6 separate regions of the Homo sapiens genome follow, and regions 2, 3, 4, 5 and 6 are each linked to region 1. The links are contacts of gene promoters, found by promoter capture Hi-C in blood cells and fetal thymus (Javierre and others, 2016). All regions are on one chromosome and are shown on one strand. Each heading gives the region's core, a stretch centred on a gene start or on the middle of the fragment in contact. The rest is flanking DNA. Distances are from core to core; before and after follow the strand shown.

What was found. The method cuts DNA at HindIII sites, captures the fragments that hold promoters and counts their contacts. A CHiCAGO score of 5 or more calls a contact.
Region 2: a fragment that was not itself captured here is called in contact with the fragment with the promoter of EDNRA in region 1 in 1 of 17 cell types (endothelial precursors); the score reaches 5.1 in endothelial precursors.
Region 3: a contact is called between a fragment that was not itself captured here and the fragment with the promoter of EDNRA in region 1, in 1 of 17 cell types (endothelial precursors). The highest score is 6.8, in endothelial precursors.
Region 4: a contact is called between a fragment that was not itself captured here and the fragment with the promoter of EDNRA in region 1, in 1 of 17 cell types (endothelial precursors). The highest score is 6.6, in endothelial precursors.
Region 5: a fragment that was not itself captured here is called in contact with the fragment with the promoter of EDNRA in region 1 in 1 of 17 cell types (endothelial precursors); the score reaches 6.6 in endothelial precursors.
Region 6: a contact is called between a fragment that was not itself captured here and the fragment with the promoter of EDNRA in region 1, in 1 of 17 cell types (endothelial precursors). The highest score is 5.1, in endothelial precursors.

The regions. Positions count from the first base shown.
Region 1 is chr4:147,479,666-147,482,406 of GRCh38, forward strand. EDNRA (endothelin receptor type A) reads left to right here and starts at 1,432. Exons shown (of 8, transcript NM_001957.4): 1 at 1,432-1,711. RefSeq lists enhancers at 2,122-2,221, 2,252-2,331. The HindIII fragment of the contact is 2,424 bases long and covers 995-2,741 here.
Region 2 is chr4:147,129,481-147,132,221 of GRCh38, forward strand. No RefSeq gene overlaps it. Among named protein-coding and RNA genes, the nearest start is that of TTC29, 180 kb to the left of the region's middle. The HindIII fragment of the contact is 3,525 bases long and covers 1-2,741 here.
Region 3 is chr4:147,147,401-147,150,141 of GRCh38, forward strand. No RefSeq gene overlaps it. Among named protein-coding and RNA genes, the nearest start is that of MIR548G, 200 kb to the right of the region's middle. The HindIII fragment of the contact is 1,939 bases long and covers 445-2,383 here.
Region 4 is chr4:147,180,660-147,183,400 of GRCh38, forward strand. No RefSeq gene overlaps it. Among named protein-coding and RNA genes, the nearest start is that of MIR548G, 160 kb to the right of the region's middle. The HindIII fragment of the contact is 2,249 bases long and covers 250-2,498 here.
Region 5 is chr4:147,198,496-147,201,236 of GRCh38, forward strand. No RefSeq gene overlaps it. Among named protein-coding and RNA genes, the nearest start is that of MIR548G, 140 kb to the right of the region's middle. The HindIII fragment of the contact is 3,290 bases long and covers 1-2,741 here.
Region 6 is chr4:147,219,710-147,222,450 of GRCh38, forward strand. No RefSeq gene overlaps it. Among named protein-coding and RNA genes, the nearest start is that of MIR548G, 120 kb to the right of the region's middle. The HindIII fragment of the contact is 1,770 bases long and covers 466-2,235 here.

The DNA of each region.
Region 1 (2,741 bases), core at 182-2,681:
CCTAGAGAAGCTGTAAGATTAGTGAACAGGGTAATATCTAGTCTAACCCTACTAGATGACTATTAAGGCCTCTTTCAATGGTGGTTTTCTGTAGATCTCTTTGATGGTTTTACAAAATGGTCCCTAAATTCTTTGACACTCCTCACACTAAGGGTTGGGCTCTATATACCCTCACCTTCAATCTGGGATTTGTGACTGCTTGACTAATAGAATCAAGCAGAAATGACACGGTGCCAGTTTCTGGGCCCAGCCCTTAAGAAACTGGCAGCTTCCACTTTCTGTCTCTGGGGACATTCACTCTTGGATCCCCGCCACCATGCTGTGAGGAAGCCCAAACCACAAGTCTCCACAAGTCTTTGTGGAGAGACGCACGTGGAGAAAAACTAACACTCAACACCAAGCAAGTGAACTGTCTTGGAAGTGGATCCTCCAGCCCCTGCTACATGGAGCAAAAACGAGCTGTCCCAGACAGGCTCTGCCCAAACTGCAGACTGATAAGCAGAGTAAATGAGTGTTGTTATTTTAAGCCACTACGTTTTATAGTAATTTGTTTAGCTGCAGCAGATAGCCGGAACAGCATGGGATATAACATGACCAGTGCTCCAACCTCACACTTCTACCATGTGCTGACTCTAGCAGTGCACTGAAGGACTCCAAGGCAGGCCTTCCCTGAGGAGACCCCAGTTTTTACTCACATGTCACAGGCAGTGGCCTTTGTCCCTCATCTCCTCTCCCACCCCCAATTTAGGATAAAGTATCTGCCGTGATAAAGACGTTGAGACCCACTTTCTGTAAGGTCGGCTTCTTCATTGTTTGAATTTCTTGAGGTTTCACGGAGCCACGCGCTGGAACCTTCCATAGTCTCTCCTGAGGCTCCTTCTTTGCCCTGGGCTGGAGGTCTGTAGCCGTGGGATGCTGGCTACAAGGGACAAGATAGAAGCAAACCACCTGATCCAGTAAACTGCTGTCCACTTCGGCTCCTCAACGGCCTCTAAGCTTAAGAGGGAGCACGCAAGCCAAGCAAAGGCGGCAGGGAAGACGGAGAAGAAACCACCCGTGGGCCCTGGCTCTGTGTCCAGTTGTTCCGTCACAGATCAAATCTGCCTGCACTAAGAGGATGGGTTCCTCTGCAAGGCCTTTCGGAATTCTGAGTCTTGTCTGTCAAACTCTACCCTCTCTCCTCCACATCCCCCACCTTTTCTTTCAGGAAGGAAATAGTTAAAAAAGACTCCTGCCCTTCAGGGCCTGGAAGGGGGCGGCAGCTTTGTGCTTTTTAGTGGCCGCGTCCCAGGATAGCTGGAAGGTTAGGACGCTCTTGCGGTCCCAGAGTGGAGTGGAAGGTCTGGAGCTTTGGGAGGAGACGGGGAGGACAGACTGGAGGCGTGTTCCTCCGGAGTTTTCTTTTTCGTGCGAGCCCTCGCGCGCGCGTACAGTCATCCCGCTGGTCTGACGATTGTGGAGAGGCGGTGGAGAGGCTTCATCCATCCCACCCGGTCGTCGCCGGGGATTGGGGTCCCAGCGAGACCTCCCCGGGAGAAGCAGTGCCCAGGAGGTTTTCTGAAGCCGGGGAAGCTGTGCAGCCGAAGCCGCCGCCGCGCCGGAGCCCGGGACACCGGCCACCCTCCGCGCCACCCACCCTCGCCGGCTCCGGCTTCCTCTGGCCCAGGCGCCGCGCGGACCCGGCAGCTGTCTGCGCACGCCGAGCTCCACGGTCGGTGCAAGTCTTTCTTATCGGGGACTGGGACTGGGGCGGGTGCGGGGATGGCGGAGACGCTGCCTGGGCCCCTCGGTCGGGAGAAGACGAGAGCTGGGAACGTTCTGGCCCGACCGCCCTGCAGCTTGGGCGACCCGTCGCAGCAGGGGCTGGCACCCACTTGCCCCAGGGCGCGCGGGGAGGCGGGCGCCTTCCGTGAGGGGTGCGCTGCGGACACGTGTAGAGTTCGGGGAACTTCACCTCTCCACGTTAGGGTTTAGGATTCGGAGTTTTAGGAAGAGGAAGCCCAATAGTTTTCCCTGGGTGACCCCTTTTCCCCAGGCATGCAAGAACTTTGAGGAACGCCAAGCTCTGTGGCTTGCTCCAGCGCCTTCTTGTGAAGTTGGCTCCACAGCCTTTTCTTACTGGCTTGCTTTTCCTCCCCCACATCTGGGTCTGGGTATGCCAAGGGTAGCCAAGGGCACTCGGTGTGAGGGACTGAGGTGTTTGGGGAAACCCCCTGTGTAGCTAGTTTTGGAAACCTGCCTGTGGAGGTCTGGGCGTTTTGTTCTGTGCTCGCCTTTAAAGGACACTTGTTGCTTCTCACGTGCAGAAAACAAGGGCTGCTTCTAGATAATCACCCTCTGTTTACATCATCCTAATGGCTTTCCCCTGATAGAGTTGGGGGTGGGAGGCATATTAAACTCAGGCGTTGTCTCTAAGGAGAGTTGCTCATTTCTTAACCAGAGAGCAAAACCTCAGAAAACTTGTAAAAAGTTCCTACTTTTACTTGTTTTTTCCTCCACCTGTAGTTGTCTATGTGTTAGCTAATTGAGAAACACCTTGGCAGTCATTTCATGTAAATTGAATGCTCTAAACTCATGCCATTTTGATAAGGTCTGAATTTCCAAATTACCAATTACAGGTGAACTTTGATCCTGAGAGTCTCATATGTTAAATGGTTAAAGTGTAAGCGTAAGGATTCAGTCCTCTTTCTTAATAATAGTTTTTGCACTCCCCAAACTCTCAGATTCCAAACAGGAAGAAT
Region 2 (2,741 bases), core at 67-2,566, 350 kb before region 1:
AATGCACACCTCCCTAGGACATTTCACGGTGTCTTTCAGCATAGCAATAAAGTTAAACAACTCCCTAAACATGTGTGTTATGAATAGGGCCTTTTGCTAAGTAAAGATGATTTGTTTCTAATACTAAACCCAGTATCTCACTTTCTGGAAAGATAACTGAACCAAACAGCTATTGGTTGGTTAGAATTAACTTTAAATTATTTTCAAAATGTCAAAAAAGGAATTACTTTTTTCTTCTTGCCTGTTATTTTTCCAGTTCTTTTTAAAACAAAGTGTTCATTTTGGGGCATGACAGCTAAAATAGAAATGTCTTTGGCATAAACTCAGCTCTCCTAGCCTGCAGGCAAAATATAAAATTGTTAAATTGGAGAGGACCAGAAAGCGGATGATAAAATTTGTCCATGGAACTTCTGTTAATAACAAACATTTGTCCCATGACATGTACTATAAGTAATAACACATGACAGGGGATGGATTTGTCACTGTCCTGAACAGCAGGTTTTGGTGCCTGTAAGACAACAGGCCAAGTTCACCTAGCCCTTCAGCTGTGGCTTCCTATGAATCTGTTGGGGTTTTCATTAAACGTCCTTTTTTAAACTTGGAAAGACTTGGGAAGACAATTCTCAGATGTGTGGGTCTAGGTTGGTCTGCCTTTAGAATTTTAGAGGCAGCTTGGTTTGTTGTGTCTGGTTCTATTTTCTACCGCAGCAGCATTTGCTGTTTCCTAAGAGTCATGCCATTTAAGCATTTTGCCTCCATTTCTTCTTCACTCAGTAGTCAGAAAGAGAGAGGAGGCGATTCTGAAAAAGGCAGATAGACAGTAGCAGAAGCGACCATGTTGATAGTTAGTAGAGGCAGCAAGGCCTTCCCATTTTCTGGCTTTGTTTCATCATATTTATTGAATCTAAGACATCATGGATGGTGAAATGCACCATTATTTTATGCACTGACCAAAACTCTTCTTGACCAAACTTCAGTCAGGTTCCTCTGAGCCCTCTTCCTAAGGTCTCAGCCTTCCTTCCATCTTTGCTGGACCTGCATAGCCCAGTTGTAGCAAGAATCCTATTAAGTTAGTTTATCAAAACTTCCCCTACTCTTGATGTGTCCTCTTAGTCATTTTTCATCCACTGAACCCCCCTCCCGCCCCCGCTACCCTGTTCCTTAGCTATACCTCCCCACTTGTCCTTGCTGTATTCAGAATTGAGCTCAGTCCTATACTGAGGTTTCTTTTCCCATATTGCAATCGCTCCTGAATAAAACGTGTTCCAATTGCTTTAAATACTGTCTGGCTCAGGTTCTTTTTAATGGTACCAATACAGAAAAGAGGATACATTTCCAATCAATCCCAGATGCAACACCTTAATGATAGTCCTCTGTGAAGCCTGGGTGGGCCACACAGCCTTTGTCCGGACATTTCTTTTTATCTATTACAAACTATTTGGCATTTTCTCTTGCCTTTGGTTGCACTGCTTGGCCTGTAATAAGAATTCTTTTGCACTTATCTCAGTAACAAAATGTAACAAAGCCTCATAGACCTGTAAGATTTCCCCTTCTTAGGTCTCCTAAAGCACCTGGATCCTCTTTCCAAGAAAAGAAGGAAATGCAGTCATTACTCCTACAAGGAACTTTTGCTTCACTAATATCAAAGTCATGGCAAGTTGCTGTTTCCCTGTCTTTCTGCATATTAAAGTCACTTTTTGTGTCAATACTGAGTAATGGCATAATCTTATTGAAGATGTTTTAAATAGTAACTTAAAACCAATGCCTTTGTTGGTGTTGCACCTTTCCAACACTAGACATAAAATCAATTGATATAACAACATAAACAGTTATGACCAAGTTTGCAGGCAGCAACCATTTAACTCCCCATGGCTGCGGCCCAGTGACAGCAAATCTAAGATGCCTCCCAATTTTAGAGATGCTAAAATATGAGAAAAATGTTTATGACAGAATTAGTGCCACACCGTGTTATCCATTTACACATTGTACAGGAGCGGTAAACTCAAATGCTCACAAGGCCAATTAAATCAGGTATTTAGCCCGACTCTATGTAAGAAACATGTACCCTCTACACCAAATATTTATTTCACTTTTAGCAGAAGCATGGCTTCAAAGGAATATTGAATACTATAAAAAAGCACCAGGCCCCTGTGGTGGCTTCACAATAGGGAACTAGAGAAAACTGAGGAATGCATGTCTCATCTAACGGAACCAGATACCGCACAGCTCAGATCAAACATTATCATGTCAGTCATCCTTAAGACTTTGGAGGCAGTATTGCCCAGTCTTCTGATTTTTGAAGAGAAATAGGAAATCTGAATTTTTAGGTGAAATCCCTTAAAAATTCATTCAAAAATTTTAAAATGCCAGACACCCCTCACAAAGCAAATCTACATCACACATTTGGTTCTTCGTTCACCAATTTGTGGCCTATGCAAAATACACCTAACGTGCATGGGTCACCCATGTTCTAAACATCACCATTTATCCCACGGGTACATTTAATCCAAAAACTATCAGCATGACTTGAAAGGTAATCATATCATGGTAACAACTTTGCCCATGAAGCATGAGGGCATAATAGGTGCCAGTAGAAATACTCCATCAGAAGAGTCATTTGTAGTCCATTTTAGATATGTTTCTTCTGTCTACATGAAATAGAACCAATTCACTAGAAGGATTTCAAGGCTTGGAACTGAGAAACAGCAATTTTTCAGAAAGTAAAAATTGATTGTTTTTAG
Region 3 (2,741 bases), core at 164-2,663, 330 kb before region 1:
CACGAAAATGGACTCAGATATTAGGAAATTAACCATGATATCTCACAGTGATAGCATCACCTAATTCTCAAACGCCATCTACGTTTTGTACATTTCCCCAATTATACACTTTAGAGCAAAAAGATCCAGTCCAGAATCATGCATTTGGTTGTCATGTCCCTTAATTGTCTAGTCCCTTCAACCTAGAACAGATTTGCAGTCTTTCCTTGACTTTCCTGACCTTGACACTGGAAACTCTGCAGACAAGTTACTTTGTAGCATGTCCCTCCGTTTGGCTTTGTTCAGTATTTATTTTTGATTAGATTCAGACTATGCCTTTTTGGCAAGAATATTTCAGAGGTGACAACATGTTCTCACTGAATTCTACCAGATTACAAGTCATTTTTATTAGTCCCATTACTGATGATGTTTACTTTGATTTCTTGATGGAAGTGATATCTGCAAAGCTTCTCCATTGCAAAATTCTTCCTTTCTCCTTAGGAATTAACAATTATTTTGGGGGAAATATTTTGAAACTATATAAATATCCTGCTTCTCTCCAAATTTTCTATTTATTCATAAATTTATTTATACCTAAATGAATTTCCTATTTCATTTAGTGGGTTATAACCCATTACTATCATTAATTTTATGCTCAAATTGTCCCAAGTTTGGCTACAAGAAGCCGATTTAAACTCATTTCTACTTCCTTTTGACATGTTCGCAATATCCTTTTAGCACATCCTTACTTTCTGGCACAAGATGTCCTGTTTCGTATTTTTCCTGTCCCATCCTTGAAATTAGCTATTTTCTCAAGGAGCCCTGGCTCTTTTGCATGGAAAATGGTATTTAAAAGCCAAGATGTGAGTGTTAGGTGTGTTCATTGCTACTGGAGTGTCACTGCTCCCACCTCTCTCAGTGGAGAAAGCTAGGAAATATATGTATGTAATACACATACAGATAACTTCCATATCCATACATTTATATCTTTAATTATCTATCTTTCTTTCTGTGTATCTACCTATTTATCCATCGTCATATCTATTATCTATCAGAGTCCATGAGTTCACATGGACATTACATATCCAATCCAACAACTGGGTTTATTCTAGTTTTCTCCCTTTCTGTATTTTTAACTCCCTTCTCCAAAAGTGAGAAATCTGTCTCAATTATTTTTATTTATTTATTAGTTTTTGAGATGGAGTCTCACTTTGTCACCCAGGCTGCAGTGCAGTGGCACGACCTCAACTCATTGCAACCTCCGCCTCCCGGGTTCAAGCAATTCTCCTGCCTCAGCCTCCAGAGTAGTTGGGATTACAGGAAATCACCACCACACCCAGCTAATTTGTTCTGTATTTTTAGTAGAGACGGGGTTTCACCATGTTGGCCAGGCTGGTCCCGAAGTCCTGACCTCGTGATCCGCCCGCCTCAGCCTCCCAACATGCTGGGATTACAGGCATGAGCCACCGTGCTCAGCCCCTCAATTATTTTTTATGTATTTACTTAATTGATCCATCCCACTGTATGTAATCTGCCATCAGTCCTCCCCTGCGAGGCTGCCTCCTCTTCTCTGCACAGCTATGATTCCACAATCTGAGCTGCCCTTGCTTCCACGTAGACAGTTCCTCTCCTGCTCAGACTCTGACAGCTCACATCACATCTCTGTGAGGCATTGCACCTGACCCTGCTTGGGTTATCTCCCACCAGGCCACCCCCAACAAGGACATTCTTCTCTCCCTGCTCGAGCTCTGACATCCCACCCCAGGCCACCTTCCTTGGAGTTTCTTTTCCTGTCCTTCTCCAGCTTCCCCTCCACGTGGACTCACTCCTCACCCTGCTCAGGGTTGATACTCTATGCCAACTTCCCTCTGCCCCTCTGCATGGACGTCTTCCTAACTCTGATCAGGCTCAATCTCCTCACCAGTCCACCCCTGCAGGGATGCCTTTCCCAGCCTGCATGGATTCTGACACTGGACACCCTGCTGTGGACCATCTTCAACCTGCTTAGGCTCTGGACCACTGCAGTCCATCTCCGACACACACATACCTCGGATGCTTGCCTTGCTCTGCCCCACTTCACGATTTAGGACCGAATTTTTCAGGAAGGAAAGAGAAGAGCTCTGAAAGACTTTTAACAGAAAATAAAGGGCTTCTAGGATGTCTACAGACTTGTAGTTTGTCATTTTCTAATCTTAATGTTTATAACTAATATTTTAGTATGAATTATTAATTTATCTGAGGTGAATAAAATTCACTGAGTTCATTGGTATCTCATAAGATGTAAAACTAGTTCTTCTGATATTCTGGAGAAATGTTTATTTTATCTGATATCTGTCTTCTATGAGCAGATGGAGTGAGCCATTCATATTTTTTTTTCATTTTGAAGAAGACCGAGGTCTGGAAAAGCTTCAAAAATTGCGGGTCTATAGCAATTGATTAATAATTAATAGTAAGCCATGTGACATTCTAGCATGTCACTTAGTAATCACCATAGTTTTAAGGAAAGCTTACTGCTTAGTGAATGTCTTTTTCTGTTTTTCACTTCTCTAAAATCTTTTAATGCACCTTATTGGGTTTTGGTGTAAATTATGAATAAGAAAGACATTTTTCTCAGTTTTTATGAGGTTAAAAAATTGATTTATAAAATGTTAACTTTAAGAATTCATTCTTTTCATTTGGTTCACTGTGTCAAGTTTGTTTGGAAATGCGACCTGTGTGTGCCTGTGTGTCATCACTTTGCATGCAAGTTTTCTCCGGCCTCA
Region 4 (2,741 bases), core at 124-2,623, 300 kb before region 1:
ACTTTGGAATCACTTTATATAGCAGGCCTTCAGTTTATCACCTATTATTCCATGAAAAATTCAATATATTCTCTGAATACCATAAAGTTAGACTCTAACCTATTAATAAAAGTGAAAACATCAATGTATGTTAAAAGTAAAGTATATGAAAAATCACTCTTCTGGGTCAAGTAGGAATGACACGCTACTCAGATAATTGAAGTGGAATGTGGTCAAAACTATATTCAGAGGAAAAGTTGTATTTTTACAAGCTTTTATTATTAAATAAGAAAGAATGGAAACAATGAAAGTAAATATTTAATTCTAGAATCTAAAGGGAAAAATCAATGAAAATTTTAAGGAAAGCAAGAAATGAAAGAGCAAAAAGGTAAACACAGAGGTTAGTGAAACATCTAAAATTTTCAAAAAGCTAAGAGATAAAGCACCAGTGTAAAATCTTAGGAATGCAAATTTATTTACAAAATATTTAAAATGTAAACAGAATGTTACGTACAACTTGATGGTAAAACGATGAGAAATGTATACAAAATTGATTAATTTATAGGAAAACACAAACAAAACTAGCTTAAGAAGTCAAATAAAATGAGTAATAATATATGATTATCAATCTAATTATTGTAGAAACTGAGATTTGTATTTAGAACATTCTCAAAATAAAGTTAAACTCCTCAGTCTCACCAATTTTTCATTTCTAGGCAATCACCAAATTGTACTGACTCTACTTTCTGGATCTCTTTCTAACACGCCCCCTTCCCTCTACCCTGCTGTCAACACCACTGCTTTATTTCAGGGTCTCATTACTTGCTTAAGTACAGAGTTCCTATTTCTCCAAACCCAGCACCTAGCAAACGGCCTGGAATTGTAGAGGGAGTGGAAAAAGTTTGTTGAAAGTTTAAAGAAACACAATGAAGCTGTTATAAACCAATCATAAAATATAGGTAAAATTATGGTAGTCCTCTGGTATGGTGAATTTAATTGACAAATGCATACCACTTTTGAAATTCTCTGCCCAGAGATAACAAAGAAAGATAATAGTGTGTCCATCTCACTGTGAGTCAAAGAATCTTCACAACGCATGAAACAAAAAGGATGGGGTGGGACGTGCTCTAAGGAGGTAGCAGCGTACATAATGTTCTCATTTCCCTAGCTAAACTATATGTACTTTGAGGTAACAGACTTTGCCTTTTGTTTCTTCCATAACCACCCATGCCTTAACTACAGATGGTATACATAAAAAAGTATAAGCTCTTCTAAATGTGTTTTAGATTACGTCTCCTCTATCCTACTTAAAGTGATTAGCCATTTTTCCTCTCTATAACATCATCAAAATTTTGATGATGGGATTATTTTCATCAAGATACTATTATGTAATTTTTCTAAACACACACATATATATATACACATGCACACCACTTTCTCTTGCCCCTTATTCCACTTTCCTACTAACAACTATCTTAAATCTTTGCCTTAAAACTCCTTGAGAGTCCTGTTTACTTTCTGTTTCCAATTCTTCCCCTTTCATTTCCCCCAAGGCACATCTAGCAGGCACAAAGCGCTTTCCCTGTGGTGACCTATGACCTCCATGGTGCTAGATCTAATGGTAAATTCTTTGTCTGAATTTTAGAGTGACTAATCAGCAGCCTTTGACACAGTTGAGCACCCCCTCTCTTAGCTTCCAAGACAACACCCCTTTGCTTTTCCTCCTGCCTTACTAGATCTTCCTTCTCAGTCTCCTTTCTTTTCTCCGTGTTTCATAATGGTGGATTGGTACAGGGCACACACACCTCTCCTTTACTTATGCTAACTCTGGTGATCTCATCCAATCTCACAGCTTTAAACACATGTTAGAATCCTAAATTTGCTTCTTCAGCACAGGTTTCTCTCTTCAACTCCAGATTTATACACAAAATTACCTACTTCACATTTCCTCTTGGATTTCTAGTAGACACATCAAATTCACCATAAACAAAAATGAACTCCTAGCCTTTCCCATCAAACACACTTTATTATAGCCTTCCTCCCCTCAGTTGAGGGCAATCTCTTCCTGACAGTTACTCAGGCCAAAAACTTGGATTATTTCTTAATTATCGTAATCACACTCTCCACAACTATTCTATTTTCAAATCCTGTGGACTCTCCTTCCAACACCTATCCAAAATCAGACAATTTGTGCCATCTCTACAGCTCACCAACCTAGTTTAAGCCATCATGGTCTTTCACATAGATTACTGCAACATTCTCTGACCAGATCTCCCTTCCTCACCCTTCCAGTCTACTCTCAACATAGCATCTGGAGTGGTCATCTCTCAGGATGCTTTATGGCTTCCCTTTCACTCAGTAAAATCCAAAGCCCTAAAATAGCCTCAAGGCCCCTCAGAATCTGCCTAGCCCCATTATCCCTGTGACCTCAAGACTATTACTTTCCCCTTTGCTTAGTCCTCATTCATCAGAAATGTGTCACTTGACCACCACTTGCTTCCAGGGAGTCTGAGAAATCAAGCTTATTAGCTGGGTACATTGCCACCCCAACAAAATAGGGAGAAGGAGAGGAATAAGTATTATCAAGGCAACTGGCAGTGACTGTCACACACCCATGATTATCTTATTTTGCAAGAAGGGAAGCAAAGTCTCAGGTAAGTTAGGTTACTTTCCACGAGAGTTTCCTAGACAGTAACTTAGTTAGAAAATGGAGAACTGAAATTCAAATCCAAGTTTGTCTGACTACACATCCCTTTATTTTT
Region 5 (2,741 bases), core at 76-2,575, 280 kb before region 1:
TCTCTTTGTTACCCTGATAATTAAGGGGAAAGTCAGCACCTGTCAGCCAAAAACAATCAAGCTGAAGGCAGGAATGTTCTTGCAAATAGCCAGAGCATTCCAAAGAATTCCAGAAATGCTCTCACATTCTCTATCACATTCCTTTAAGCACAGATTAATTTAAACAAACAGCCTAATCACGCCATATCAGAAACGTACACACAGGAAACAAAGGCCAAAAACTAAGTCTCAATGAAAAATAGCCATCTTGTAAGGAAATAAGCACATCATTCTTATGCCAGAAGACATGGTTTCAAATATATTTCTGCAGAAGCCAGTCTCTTCATGTCGAGGCTCAGTAGGAGCATCACCAGGCTGTGCTACTTCACACTCCTTAGCAGGGAACATCATCTTAGACAATTGTCCCTGAAGCATAGCTTGATCCTTTCCAGACTTAATAGAGTGGACTGCTTGTTTAATGGTAAAATGTGTGCATTCTGAAGAAGGGACATCAACCTCCTCAATTTAATTAGAGAACCGTTATAAAGAAGTGAACCATGTTATGCTTTAGCCCAGTAGGCTATTAACCCTGAAAAACTGGGAAGGAGCAGATGATACATCTATAATATCTTCTCACAGTAAGCCTGCCTCTTGGTTTTTGTGACTGAAGATTCTGAGATGGTCAATATTTGCAGGATGGTCTGACAAATGCGGCTGTAATAGCAACAATCTGTGAGTATGGGCTAGTCTGGTTTTATTTGTAGTTTGTTGGTACTTCAGTGGGTCCATAACTTAGAACATGAAATATGTATTAATTTCTTAGGCATGTAACAATTATTTCTCCAGAGCACAAAAACACAAGGATTTATGCACCAAAAGTGTTTGTAGTCAGACCTGACTCCCTGCTGGCCACAATCATATAAGAATGTACAAATGTGGAACACTTCTGAATTTATTCATTTCTTAGCTTTCTTCTAATTACTAATTTCACTTAATGAACTGTGCCAGAAGATCATAACTACCCTGACCAACAGTTTTTAATAAGACAAACAATAAGCCATGAAGAGAGAAGGGCCAAATTACTTATCGAAGAAGGATTTACATGAAATGAGGGCTGAATTGTTTAACTGGAAGGGCCACATCTACAGGTCTCCTTACATGAGACCATAATGAAAACCAACAGATGTGAGAGCACAGGATACAGTCCTGAGCAGCCCTTCAGCCACACCTGCATATTTAGCTACAACTTCTGAAGACAAGAAGCACTGGTGGACTTAATGGCTTCTTATTACCAAAGCAAACAATTAAATCTGGCCCTCTGAGAACAAGGGATCGTAGAACATCTTTAGGGAAAATGTTAAGTGTACTTTTTGTGGCCCATCAGAGGATCATTACATAGTGGCACTGAATTAAGCCTTGACTTAAGGTAACATGAGTATGGGAGAGAAAAAATTGCATTTAAGAATGTTTCATTTAATGGGAGGCTCGGAGAAAATGTAGTTGATAATGGATGTCATTTGCTCGCCTCCAGCCACACACACCTTTATCCTTTGTTGCCCCCCATCTCAATGTTAAAAAAGAAGTCCCCCAAAATGTTTTATTAAGGGAATTGTTAAGGGTTTCTACAATTTCCACAGCCACCTTATTCAGGACTCCACTGCACCAATCATGTGTGAATGAAGGGTAGTATTTGTGTTAGCAGATAGCTGGGACACCTGACAGTCTGCCTTTATCCTCTCAGCTGGTTCTGGTGTCTCTCTCAGATTTGGGATATACCAACAGTCCACAGGATTTCATATGTATCTGACTAGAAAAAGTTAGATATGATCATATTAACACTTAAAGCAGTGTTTCCCAAGTAATGGCTCTCAGAGAAAATGATAGTATGTATTTATACTCAGCAGTAATCAGACAAGTCAGTGTGTCTAGAAGTAACTAGCTGGGGAAGGAGAGGAAAGTGAAAGTAGTGATGGGGAGGAGGGGGCTCCAGGCACTCTAAGTCATGCTCTGCCAGCCTGGGCTTCATGGATCAATATCGACCTACACCCAAGAACCCAGAACAGCATCCGCCAGAGAAACACTCCCTTAATGGATACGGATGGTTCAAGCATTTCCTTGGGAAAATAAGTAAGATTCTAAGGTCCTCCGTGGTATCATGAGCCTTTATGTGATGAAATAGGGATTATGAGTCAATATTATTTAGTCTCATAAAGAGAAAGGGACACAGGATAGGTGCTCCAATAATCTTCGCTATTGCATTCATGTTTTAAATACCAACCAATACAAGAACCTCAGAATGCAAAATTGAGCTATACTACGCATTCGCAAATCAGATACAAACTTATTTACCCTCAACCTGAAAGAAGTCAGGGTGAACCTAACATTTAAAAGAAATGTATTAAATCTTTACAATTCTTTTCTTCTTTTTCTTGTTTCATTTTTTTTCATTGTCGTCCGTGATGTAGGGAAAAAACAGAAGGTATTTAAAGTGAGTAAATATTCTGTGAATTTTCTTAGTCTAATCCTCTTTAAAAATGTAAAAAGTAGTTGACTATGACAGTGTGGTAGAGACAGCAAGAATTAGCCCAAGATTGGATGATTTCCACAAAGAACTTGCAAGCTGGGATACATATACAACCACTTTCTGAGATGCTTTCTCTGGTAGTTCAGATACTCTGACCTCAGTTAGACAGAACAGGCTGCATACCATCTTAGAAAGATTATAAACAAAAATATCAAAATGGTTTAGAAAGGAAATAACA
Region 6 (2,741 bases), core at 101-2,600, 260 kb before region 1:
CCTTGATTCCAAGAAGATAAGTTTAGACATCTTCAGTTTCTATTATGTATGAATTTCATAATTTGTGCATAAAGAGGTAACTTCATCTCTTAGGTGGTATTACGTTAAACTGTACCCCACATGAAGAGTTTGCTCTAAGCCAGAGACCTTAGAAATTAAACTTGCTTAATGTCAAATAAATTTTTACACACTGCAAGTATGATAAACTATTTTGGATTAATGGGTTCTTTCCTAAAACCCAAAACAGATTAAAGACTTCCTTACTCCGGAATAGGATCAAACCAGAAGAAGGTTTTAAATGCAGAGGAGTTTGGAAAGAGGGCCCTGATCTTTTTCATCCAATAGAATAAACATGCTTAAATCTATGACTGTGTAGACTGTATTTATTACAGAATTTAGGACAGTAGTCGATCCACTGAAACTCTGTTCTCAGTAGCAACCATTCCATTTCCTCAACCCTACTTAAGCTTCAATTCAGAGTCAACCAATTATTTTTCTCTTTCTTTCAACCAAACTTCACATGCTTTGACGGCAGTCCAAGGAATACTTGAAGGATAGGTGTGGTAGTTTGCTTCCATTGAAATAAAATCTATTCATTTTTTCCTACTAGTTTAGCTTGTAAGTAGTTTACAAAAATTATATACATAAATGTACTCTAATTGATCAAAAGACTAATATTGACTCAGTTCATATTAGTATTGCCACTGCCTCTTTCTATTTGTTCTCTACTAATAGACAGAGAAAATGCAAGTTTTAGCTGGCAGTAAACGTAATCCAATCAATCACCCTTAAAACAGATTCCAGTAAAGAAAATAAATACTGATACTAAAAAGTAAAAAAGGGTATATTACATTATTTCATAAGACCCATTGTATGATTGGTTTCTGGACACTGTTTAATTTAATGGAAGAAACTAGCATTGAAACACACCAACATATTTTCCATTTTCAAATAAAAAGTTTTGACCTGAGTTTTGTTAGATGGCTGCCTTGAAATATTTGAATTATTGAAAATAGGCTTGACATAGTATTCCATGAAGTATGCATGCTTTTACAAGTTTGAATGCATTTATTTATAGGTTAACATTTTTAAAAGTTTGTGTGCTATAATGCATCTATCTCTAAATATTTATGAATGTACTTCCCCATTAAGTCAGGAGACAGGAATGGAAAAACTAAGAAACATTCTCCATAGAGTGGATATATTCAAATGTCAATTTTTTAAAAGGAATGAATCCAATATGCTAATTTTAAATGCATTTCAAGGGTCTTTCGGCCTAAAATCAACACTTCCAATTAAAGGAAACTTCCAACATTAACTACCTTATGAGTCATACCAGAGGTTATAGTCTGTTAGGAAATAGGCCAATATAAAGAAAGAAGAACTAGAAGGAAGTGCAAGGTTTTTATGATTCTTGGTAAGGCTGATTTAGGCAGATTCTGAGATCTGCTGTCTAATTATTTAGTCTTCTTGTACTTTTAACTGGATTAGGGGAAAGGATCCTTAGTTTCTTCACAAAAAGAAAAAAACTTTTCTCTTAGTTGTTTGATTGGAAAATTATCAAAGACATCAAAGAAAAAGTAGTTCGAACAGAGAAGAAGGACTTTTCATGATATTCTATGTGAAAAGTGAGAACAAAAAAATCTGGTCCGAATGATAAAACATTCCCTTCCATAACCAGCCTCCAGATTTTCTCTTGTTTGAATATTTGTGACATTTTGACTTAGAAAATATACTTTCCTTAAGAGCTGGTGGACATTCCCAAAGAAACATGATCTTCTAACACCTTTTTCTACCATTTTCTGTTTTAATAATTAAGGAGTAGAAGACCAACACAGTAAACAATGTCAAAATAGTCTTTATATTCCCAGAAACACAGAAGGGGGCAGAGATGAAAAATTCCCAAAGAAATATTAGATGAGGAATATTTTGCATCTCCAATGTCTGTAATTTCTGTTTATACTGTGACACAAATAAATACATCTAGTTGGTGTGATGGTAAGGTGGTTAACTTTCATATATCTTGAAGTTCATTTTTAAAATTTCTGCTTTTAATTTTAAAGTTATGGGACTATATTTAGTTTTTTATTTAGTTATAATTCACTTTCAAATAAATCCAACCCTTGAGAACTTCATCTAAAGAGTTTATCATATTCACAATAAAATACCAATTTCTTCTTTTTGTCTTTCCAGTTCTCAAAAGATGTACATATAATAGTTTCTCTTAAAAGAAAAAGCTTTACATAAATAAGTTCTTGTTTTATTTTAAAATTAACATAAAAATAATATCCCATAAGCATGTCACCTAATATAAGCATTATCCTATTTTTGTATATTCCCTTCACTGTTCTTGTATATTCTCTTTAAATAAACATTACTTTATATGTTTTTCATATTGCAATTATCACATACATCAAATATTGTACCCTCTTTTTCCTATATAACATTAAATAAAATTGCCTTTTCACATGTGTAATTTTTATTAGAAGCACAATATTCTATTAATTTAATTAAACTTTTAAGTATTCTATTTATTATTTCTTAAGTAAATCTTTACTTAAATAAAATGCTTATCTTTTTAACTTCTTCATGTATTTCTGGATCCTTTCCAGATTGAGTAGTGTGATCCAGGACTACTGCAGCAAAAAAATGTGTGGACATCTTCTAGATCAGTTACTCCAGTACCTTGATCTCTGTATGTTTCTCTAGTATTCTCTCAGATAGTTTCATGTAATGTGGGT